Regions from separate parts of the Homo sapiens genome. Here region 1 is linked to region 2. The links are contacts of gene promoters, found by promoter capture Hi-C in blood cells and fetal thymus (Javierre and others, 2016). All regions are on one chromosome and are shown on one strand. The core of a region is centred on a gene start or on the middle of the fragment in contact, and the rest is flanking DNA. Distances in the headings are between cores, read along the strand shown. Region 1 overlaps GNAT1 (G protein subunit alpha transducin 1). Region 2 holds the start of HYAL2 (hyaluronidase 2).

Region 1 (4,107 bases), core at 1,079-3,578, 130 kb after region 2:
AGGCAGAATCACTTGAACATGGAAGGAGGAGGTTGCAGTGAGCCGAGATCATGCCATTGCCACTCCAGCCTGGGCAACAAGAGCAAAACTTCGTCTCAAAATAAATAAATAAATAAATAAATAAAATAAAAATAGATTCACCATATGAGGCCGGTTGCAGTGGCTCACGCCTGTAATCCCAGCACTCTGGGAGGCCGAGGTGGGCAGATCACCTGAGATCAAGAGATAGATCGAGACCATCCTGGACAACATGGTGAAACCCCGTCTCTACTAAAAACACAAAAATTAGTTGGGCATGGTGGCGTGTGCCTGTAGTCCCAGCTACTCAGGAGACTGAGGCAGGATAATTGCTTGAACCTGGGAGGCGGAGGTTGCAGGGAGCCGAAATTGTGCCGCTGCACTCCAGGCTGGCGACAGAGAGAGACTCTGTCTCAAAAAAAAAAAAAAAAAAAAAAGATTCACCATATGATTTGCCAGTTCCATTTCTGGGTATACACCCAAAATAATAAAAAACAGAGGCTGGGAGAGAGATTTGTACACCCATGTTCATAGCAGCATTATTCACAATAGCCAAAAGGCAGATGTAACCATTCATCAATAGATGAATAAATAAACAAAGTGTGGAATATATACAATGGAATATTATTCAACCTTAAAAAGGAAGGAGATTCTGCCATATGCTACACATGAATAAACCTTGAAGACATGATGCTAAGTGAAATAAGCCAGTTGCAAAAAGACAAAGACTTCATGGACCCACACATCTGAGGCACTTAGAGCAGTCACATTCATAGAGATGGAAAGTAGAATGGTGGATGCCAGGAGCCGGGGGAAGGCAGGAATGGGGGGTTATTTTTTCATGGGTACAGAGTTACAGTTTTACAAGAGGAAAGGAGTTCTGGAGATGAACAGTTGCGGTGGTTGTACAACATTATGAATGTACTTAACACCACCAAACTATACACCGGCAAGTGGCTGAGATAGTAAACTTTATGATACATGTATTTTTAAAACTGGCAAAAAATCCCTACAAACATATAGCAACAAATAGTTTTCCCTTTGCTTCAAGCCCCAATATATCTTAGCATGCCTCTGTTTGATCCTCTGTTGGATTTTGATATTTCATTCATTGTGGGGTTTTGCATTCATTTGATTTTTAAAAATATTATCCTAATATTATTTACCTTGGTTACTAAATTTTTTGGCATCGCCTTAAATGTTGCACCCAAGGTGAGTGTGCCTCACTTCCCTCACCCTAATCCCAGCCCTGCAATTATGTTCCTGCCTCGAGGGCTTCCAAGACTCTCCATCACCTTCTGAGAAAGCCCAGGCCCTCCGACTGGCTTTGGGCACCTGTCCACGTCTCTCCTCCCCTGCTCTTGCTCCACTGAACTCCTGTGGCCATAAGCCCATGTTTCTGGGGCTGGTAGACACTACGGTCCCTGCCAGAATGAGCCTCCACCTCAAAACTCCCTCTTGATCCAAGACTGTCCCAGTGAATATTTTCCACAGCTCCTCTCTCCTCAACTCCCGTGAAAAGCCATGAGTTGGTCCCATACCCCCAAGAGTGCCCCACCTTGTCAGGCCAGGTACTTCTTCCTGGGAGGGGCCATCTTCCCACTTCATGCCCAACCCAGCACTGGGCACTTAATAAATGCCCATGACTTGTGATAATTAAGTCCTCCACCAAGAAAGGACAGCTGGAGCCTGATGCAAAGGTTTATTGCTGAGTCTGTGCGTCTAGCTGAGGGGAGTGCAAATTGTGCCCCGGCCTTGCCAGACGGAAGCTCCTTGTCCCCGACTGCAGCACAGGCCCTGGCCTGTGGACATAAGCAAAGATTTGGTGCTGGATGAGGAAGGAGGGAGCAGGGATGTGGGGACATGGGCCTTTGTCCCTGATAGTTCAGCCATGGCTCTCAGCTTCCCCTGCCAGGGAACCCTGAATGGAAGGGGCAAGAGAAGCTGCTGGTAGGGACAAGAGGGTCACCCAGGTTTGCTTGTAACCCCACCTGAGGTAGACCCTTTTGGGCACAGCCAGGGCCTTTGTCCTATCCTGAATCCTCTGGGCTGATCCAAGGGAGCTGGACTCTGTCCCCAGCCACCCCTCAGGACAGCCCAGCTATTGGCCATAGCTGGTGTCAACAGTACCCTCCCTTAACCCCTTAACACACCATCCTGTTGTCCAACCAGCCCAGGGTACTGTGTGTGGGTGGGGAAGTGGTGTGTGGATCTGCTGTCCAAGGACACAGGGAGCAGATCCTGCTGGAGAAGGCTGGAGGTTGCTCTGAGCCTAGTATTTGGGGAAGGGTCCTGCTGTGTCTCACTCTGGCACCCAAGGGCCCCCAGGTCTGCCCCCTCCCCACTAATTTATTTATGTGGGGGCCACACAGGCCAGAGCTAGCTTGGACTTTGGACCCTTTGGAGGCTGCTGGGAGGGACAGTCACTGGCTCTGGGTAGACAGGTGTCAAACTTGTCACATGGAGGTGGCAGGGTGAGCAGCTGGCCTGTGTGTGGGAGGGATATTCCCTGTCCTTGATGAAATACTGGGAGGGAGGGCTGTTTGCTGAGCCCAGGCCCACCAGGTGAGTCGTGGGCCCCCAGGGGCAGGAGAGCTGCGGGAGATTGGTCAGTTGGGCACTGCTGAGTCACCGTGAGCTTCAGCTGCCCCAAGTCCTGCCCGTTCCTAGCTGGGGCTGGCTGCTGTGAGTCCTAGAGGCCAGTGCAGCCGGGCGGTGAAGGGCAGGGCTTGGGGTTGGGGGCATGAGGCGCTGGGATACTGTGGGAGGTATGGGGGAGGGTCCGCGCCTCAAGGCTAGCAGGGCTCAGAGCTTTGGTGAGGTGGCAGGTTGGGGCCAGGGAGTCCCAGGGGGCTGATAGGGTCCTGGGGTTTGGGGCTGCAAGGCAGCTAGGGCTACCAGGTCTCAGGGTGACTGACACGCATGAATTCAGGCACCTGTGAAAAGGAAACCCAGTCAGCATCCCTGAGACCCAAAATAAATGGGTTTAGGCATTGTGTGTGGTGGGGCGGCCCTGGAAGCTGTGACACCTGAGGTCTTGGGGCGGGGCCAAAAGAAATTCAATGGGTGGGACTTGTGGGGTGGGGCGGGGCCTCTGTCGGTGGGGTGGAGCCTGAGGAGCTGGGGTGGGGCCTGGAGGCAGTAGGCTCCAGGATTTGGGGGTGAGGCTCCAGGGCCGTGGTGTGGGGTGGGGAGCTGGACGGGGCTGGGGTATTGAGGCAAGAGCCTGGAGAGGGCAGCGACCTACCTCAGAAGAGGCCACAGTCTTTGAGGTTCTCCTTGATGATGATGTCGGTGACAGCGTCGAAGACAAATTTGACGTTCTGCGTGTCGGTGGCGCACGTCATGTGGGAATAGATCTCCTTCACGTCGCGCCGCATGTTGAGCTCGAGGAACTGCACCTTGATGTAGTTGCCGGCGTCCTCGTAGGTGTTGGGTCCTGCGGGGGCGGGAGCTCTCACTCTGCTCAGCCCTTCCTTCCCCGTGCGGGGGGTGCGCGCCGCGATCGTGGGGCGGGGGCGCCGCCTGGCGGCCTTGCGGACTTCTCACCATCGTAGTCCGGGAAACAGATGCTGAGGTGCGCCTTCTTGATCTTCTCGAAGAAGACGTCCTTCTTGTTAAGGAAGAGCACGATGGACGTCGTGGCGAAGTAGCGGTGGTTGCAGATGCTGTTGAACAGGTGCAGGCTCTCGTGCATGCGGTTCTGAGGAGGGCAGCAGCTGTTGGGCACCCGGGGTAGCGTCCGACCCGCAGCACCTGCTCTCTGGGCTCCCGGGCACGCGGGGCTTCCCGCTCAGCTGGCTCTCAGAGGGCTCCCCGCACTGCCCCAGATGGGCCTGCTGAACGCCTCCGGGCCTCCTCAGGCCGCCCGGGACAGGCATCCCCTCCCGTGCCCTCCCCCAGCCCAGCGCGCGGTCTCCGCCTCCAGGGACCAGCAGCTCCTCCTCGCCCCCCTGGAACACAGGCCCTGCCTGGCACGCACCACTTCGTCGTCCTCCACTAGCACCATGTCGTAGGCGCTCAGCGCCGCGATGAAGATGATGCAGGTCACGCCCTCGAAGCAGTGGATCCACTTCTTGCGCTCCGAGC
Region 2 (3,873 bases), core at 1,374-3,873:
CTATGGGGAGTTACTCCAACCCACCTATTCTGTCTAATCTCCATGGCTTTGCACCAAATCCTCCACCCCTCCAATTGGGAGGGGACTGTTCACCACCTTGTGGTAAGGGACAACACCCTAAGGCTGGTGCCAGTAGTTATGAGTAGCCTACCACCCCCTCCCTTACAGTAACCCCCACCCCTTCAGGATCAGTCAAGGGAAAGCACTAGAACCCCTGGGTAGGGAAAGAAAGGAGGGAAAAACCATAAAAGGAATACTTATAATGTGAAGGTTTGTAAATAGTCCATGATGATGTCGTGGCAGAGTCTGATTTCTATATAGAGGTGACTTTTTTTTTAAGTACTGTGCAAGCTCTGTGCTTCTATAATGTGGGAAATGGCTTGGGGAGGATGGCCCCTAGCTTAGGAAGACTGTTGTGTTATTTGTTCAATTTCAATAAAATGATTTGTAGATCCTGCACATGAGAGTGGCATCCTGTGGGGGCTCTGACACCCAGTGTCTAGACTACCACCTGGGTTCAATAGGTAGGCCTGGCACAGGACTCTGGCAGGCCCCCTATGACCAGCAAAGCCCAAGAGTAAGTCTGAGCCCAGCCTGTGGCCATCCCAACTGTGGCCAGCAGGTGGCTGTGTGTTCACACAGACCTCACTGCAGGCCCCCTGCAGGGTGGGAGGGCACTCATTTATCTGTTGTGATCCATGTGGTGGTGACCCTTGGAATCAGAAGGCCCTGGGATACTTCACTAAGGATTGGCCCCACCTGCCTGATCTAAGGTGAGAGAGTGTGACCCAAGATAGTTCTGGAATATCTGTCTTAGCTGTAGCATCGCCAGCTGATCCTAAGTGGGGTCATGGCCTGACCCCCATGGACCTCAAAGGCCCAGCTTTAATGGACAGCAGCCAGATAGGTGTCCCCACGCCTTTGGCCTACTGCCAGGCTCAGCAACCCAAACTCATGTGCCTCCTCTGAGGCCTGCCTGCGGACACCATGGGAGAATGAGCTCAGGCTGCTGTTTCAGCAAGCAAGGCTCGGCCCACTAGTATTGCCCCTGCTGTCTGTTGCCCCCATCTTCTCATCACCTGCAGCCTGCCCACTGTGGTCATTCTGCCTGCACTTCTCAGGGGCTGCTATAAGGCAGATTCTCTACTAGGCTTAGGCTTTGACTATCAGTCCAACTCCCAGTTAAAGAGGGGAGATTTCAGGGACAGGCTTCTGAGTGTAGGGAGCTGGTCTGCCAGTCTTTCGGAGGTTTGAACTTGTCAAGGCTAGGGCAGGATCACCATATCCAGCCTGGACTTGCAGTTCTGTGGGGTGCCTCCCCATACCCCCATAAGATGCCAAACATGAGGCCCTGTCATCCTCCATGGTCCCCCTCTACTGGCTGTTCAAGGCCCAGGGCTCTCCCATGCCAGATAGCATCCTGTCTCCTACCACCACTGTCCCAGCCTGAGGGAACTCCCTGTGCTGGGCCTACCCAGCTGACCCCATCGCTGGAAACAATGGGGGTCAGGCAACACTTCCCCACTCTCTCCCGCCGGGCTGTGCTCACTTCCTTCCTGCTGGCTGCCTGAGGAAGTGTCCCTGCCCTGGGACAGTCTGGCCTAGCCTTTGTTTCCCCGGGGGTCCCCACCCATGGAGCTTTCAAGGCTTCTGGCCCCTGTGAAGCCAGCACAGTGGTACAGGGACACTGCACCTTCCCCTACCATGTCTTGGACTCCTTGGTCCTCAGGGCCAGACTCCTGGGTATTCACCTACCCCTCACACAGCCTTCTGTTGGGGGAGAGGCTCCTGGGCATTGGGCCATTGGGTTGTTGAGGGGTTGGCTCTGGGTGATTTGAGGGTAGGTAGATTTGCACCCCTGGAGAGGTCTGCTGGAACCTTGCTGCAGTCCTCCCTAGGGCCAGCCACAGGAACACCCCTCCCAGAGGAGTATACCCCTTTCCTCATCCATGTTGTAAGGAGCCCCCTACTCTGTATAGTGGACTCTGAAATCCATCCAGGAATGAACTCCAGCAGGAAAGCACTCTGCAGAACCCTCCCAGTCCATCCCCTCCTCCCCAACCCACACAGTCACACTCACTAACACATTGTCCTGTCACACAGGATGCGGAAGCTCTCAGTGGAAAAAAACGGACTCAGCTACTGGAAGTCCCCCCGACCCTCCCCCCAAGGCTAGTTCCCTTCTTGGGCACCTGCTCTGGGGGACCATCAGCTGAACGACCCCCAAGTATTTTGACTCCCAAAAGCACCACCACCTGACCCCATCCTCTCACACCCTACTGGATTTGAGGATGGGCCCCAATCCTAGGGAAGGAGTGAAGAGGTTCCCTAGTGTTGGAAGCTGTGGGTGTGGGGGAGATTGGCACCTGATCCTGAGCCCATAGCCTTCCTGTCACCTGGCGCAGCTGGCGGGGCCAGATCCTACTCGGGAAGGGTGGGGAGGGCAGCCAGCCAGCAGGGCATTCTGGAGGGAAACAGGGTCAAGGCGATCTCCTCCCCCACGCCTGTTCCTGGCCCTTTCCTCTCAGGGGGCAGCAGGAAGTGAGGAGAAAGGGCTGGGATGGGAGGCGGGAGCGGATGGGAGGGAATGGGGTTTATCAAGTCCTCGGCGAGCTGCCCAACGGGCAGCAGCTGGCGCAAGTAGCCTAGCTGGAGAGGCTCACCCCAGGAAGGAGGGAGGCCACCGACCTACTGGGCCGACGGACTCCCACACAGGTGAGCCCAGAGCAGACGGCTGGTCTGCACCCCCACAGATGCGCTCGCAGTTGCACTCCCTCCCTCTCCTGGCGCCCGGGAGGGTTAGGGGCTGGTGGTGCAGACGCGGGCCCTTTTGGGAGTTGAGTCTCGCACAAGGGAGCGGACCTAGGAAGAGCCGAGGTGGTTTCGCACGGGGCTCGCCAGGGTCTAAGCCTGCCCCCCACCGGGAGAGGCCTGTGGAGCGTAGGGGGCGCTGGATACGGGATGGAGGCCCTGGGAGACCCCTCTTGCTGGCTTTCTCGGAGGTCCAGCCAGAAACTGCTGCAAGGAATGGAGGCCTCCTCGGGGTTGAGAGGGAGCCGGGCTCCCAAAGGACCTCAGAGACTGGGCAGAAAAGGACGGGATCTCAGGGATGACTGTCCCGCCCTGATGCGAGTCAGGGAGAGGGGCGGCCAACCTCCTAGACCCCTCTGAGCTTCCCTGACCCCAACCCTGCGGCCACGCCGCGACCCAGAGCCGGGCTGCCAGGATAACGACTGCCTCGGCCCTTCCTGGGCCGGCTAAGAAGCGGTGCTTGGCCCCTTCCCTCAGTCTGGCAGGGGGCGGGGCCTCCCTTTAGACGGCGGACCAGAGAAGGGGGCCCCTGATTCGTGGGAGGCGGGGCACTACTCTCCAGGAGACCAGAGGTCGCCTCAGGTCAAAGTCCCTTTTTCCACACAAAGGGGACCCACGGCTGGCGTCTACGTTAGGGGGTGCAGAGCCAGATCTGGTGCTGCCCCCTGCCAACCTCGGAGTACCACAGCACCTCCTGATGGCCGAACGGGGCAACGCCTCCTCCTATTCCCCCCCCCCCCCTTCCCGTCCCCCTGCCTTGTCCCTCACACTGTCTCTTTAAAGGGCTGGCGGCGCCGCGGAGCTGGGAGGACTGAACCACCGGCCTCGGGCTGCAGGGGAAACATTTCAGGCTGACTGGCGCTCGTGGCTGAGACTCCCATAGAAAGCCCGGCTCAGAGGGGCATTAGGGTCCTAAATGGGCGGCCACGTCCCTCTGCAGAGGACCTGGGGCTCTTCGAGCCCGAAACGAGGCACCGGCACCGAGAAAGGTGGACCACACCTTCCCGCCCCGTCCGCAAGTCCAATCCCGGGCCCACCTCCGCACTGGAGTCTTAAAGGGCC

What was found. The method cuts DNA at HindIII sites, captures the fragments that hold promoters and counts their contacts. A CHiCAGO score of 5 or more calls a contact.
Region 1: a fragment that was not itself captured here is called in contact with the fragment with the promoter of HYAL2 in region 2 in 1 of 17 cell types (endothelial precursors); the score reaches 5.9 in endothelial precursors.

What each region holds. Positions count from the first base shown.
Region 1 is chr3:50,194,115-50,198,221 of GRCh38, reverse strand. It overlaps GNAT1 (G protein subunit alpha transducin 1), which reads right to left. Exons shown (of 9, transcript NM_144499.3): 6 at 4,001-4,107; 7 at 3,568-3,721; 8 at 3,266-3,457; 9 at 526-2,954. The coding sequence ends at 3,267. Among named protein-coding and RNA genes, the nearest start is that of GNAT1, 4.6 kb to the right of the region's middle. RefSeq lists enhancers at 2,723-3,254, 3,307-3,822, 3,811-3,870, 3,823-4,107 and a silencer at 3,441-3,500. The HindIII fragment of the contact is 7,498 bases long and covers 1-4,107 here.
Region 2 is chr3:50,321,495-50,325,367 of GRCh38, reverse strand. It overlaps HYAL2 (hyaluronidase 2), which reads left to right and starts at 2,623. Exons shown (of 4, transcript NM_003773.5): 1 at 2,623-2,715. TUSC2 (tumor suppressor 2, mitochondrial calcium regulator) reads left to right here. Exons shown (of 3, transcript NM_007275.3): 3 at 1-459. RefSeq lists a silencer at 531-720 and enhancers at 929-1,430, 2,213-2,886, 3,520-3,859. The HindIII fragment of the contact is 6,890 bases long and covers 1-3,873 here.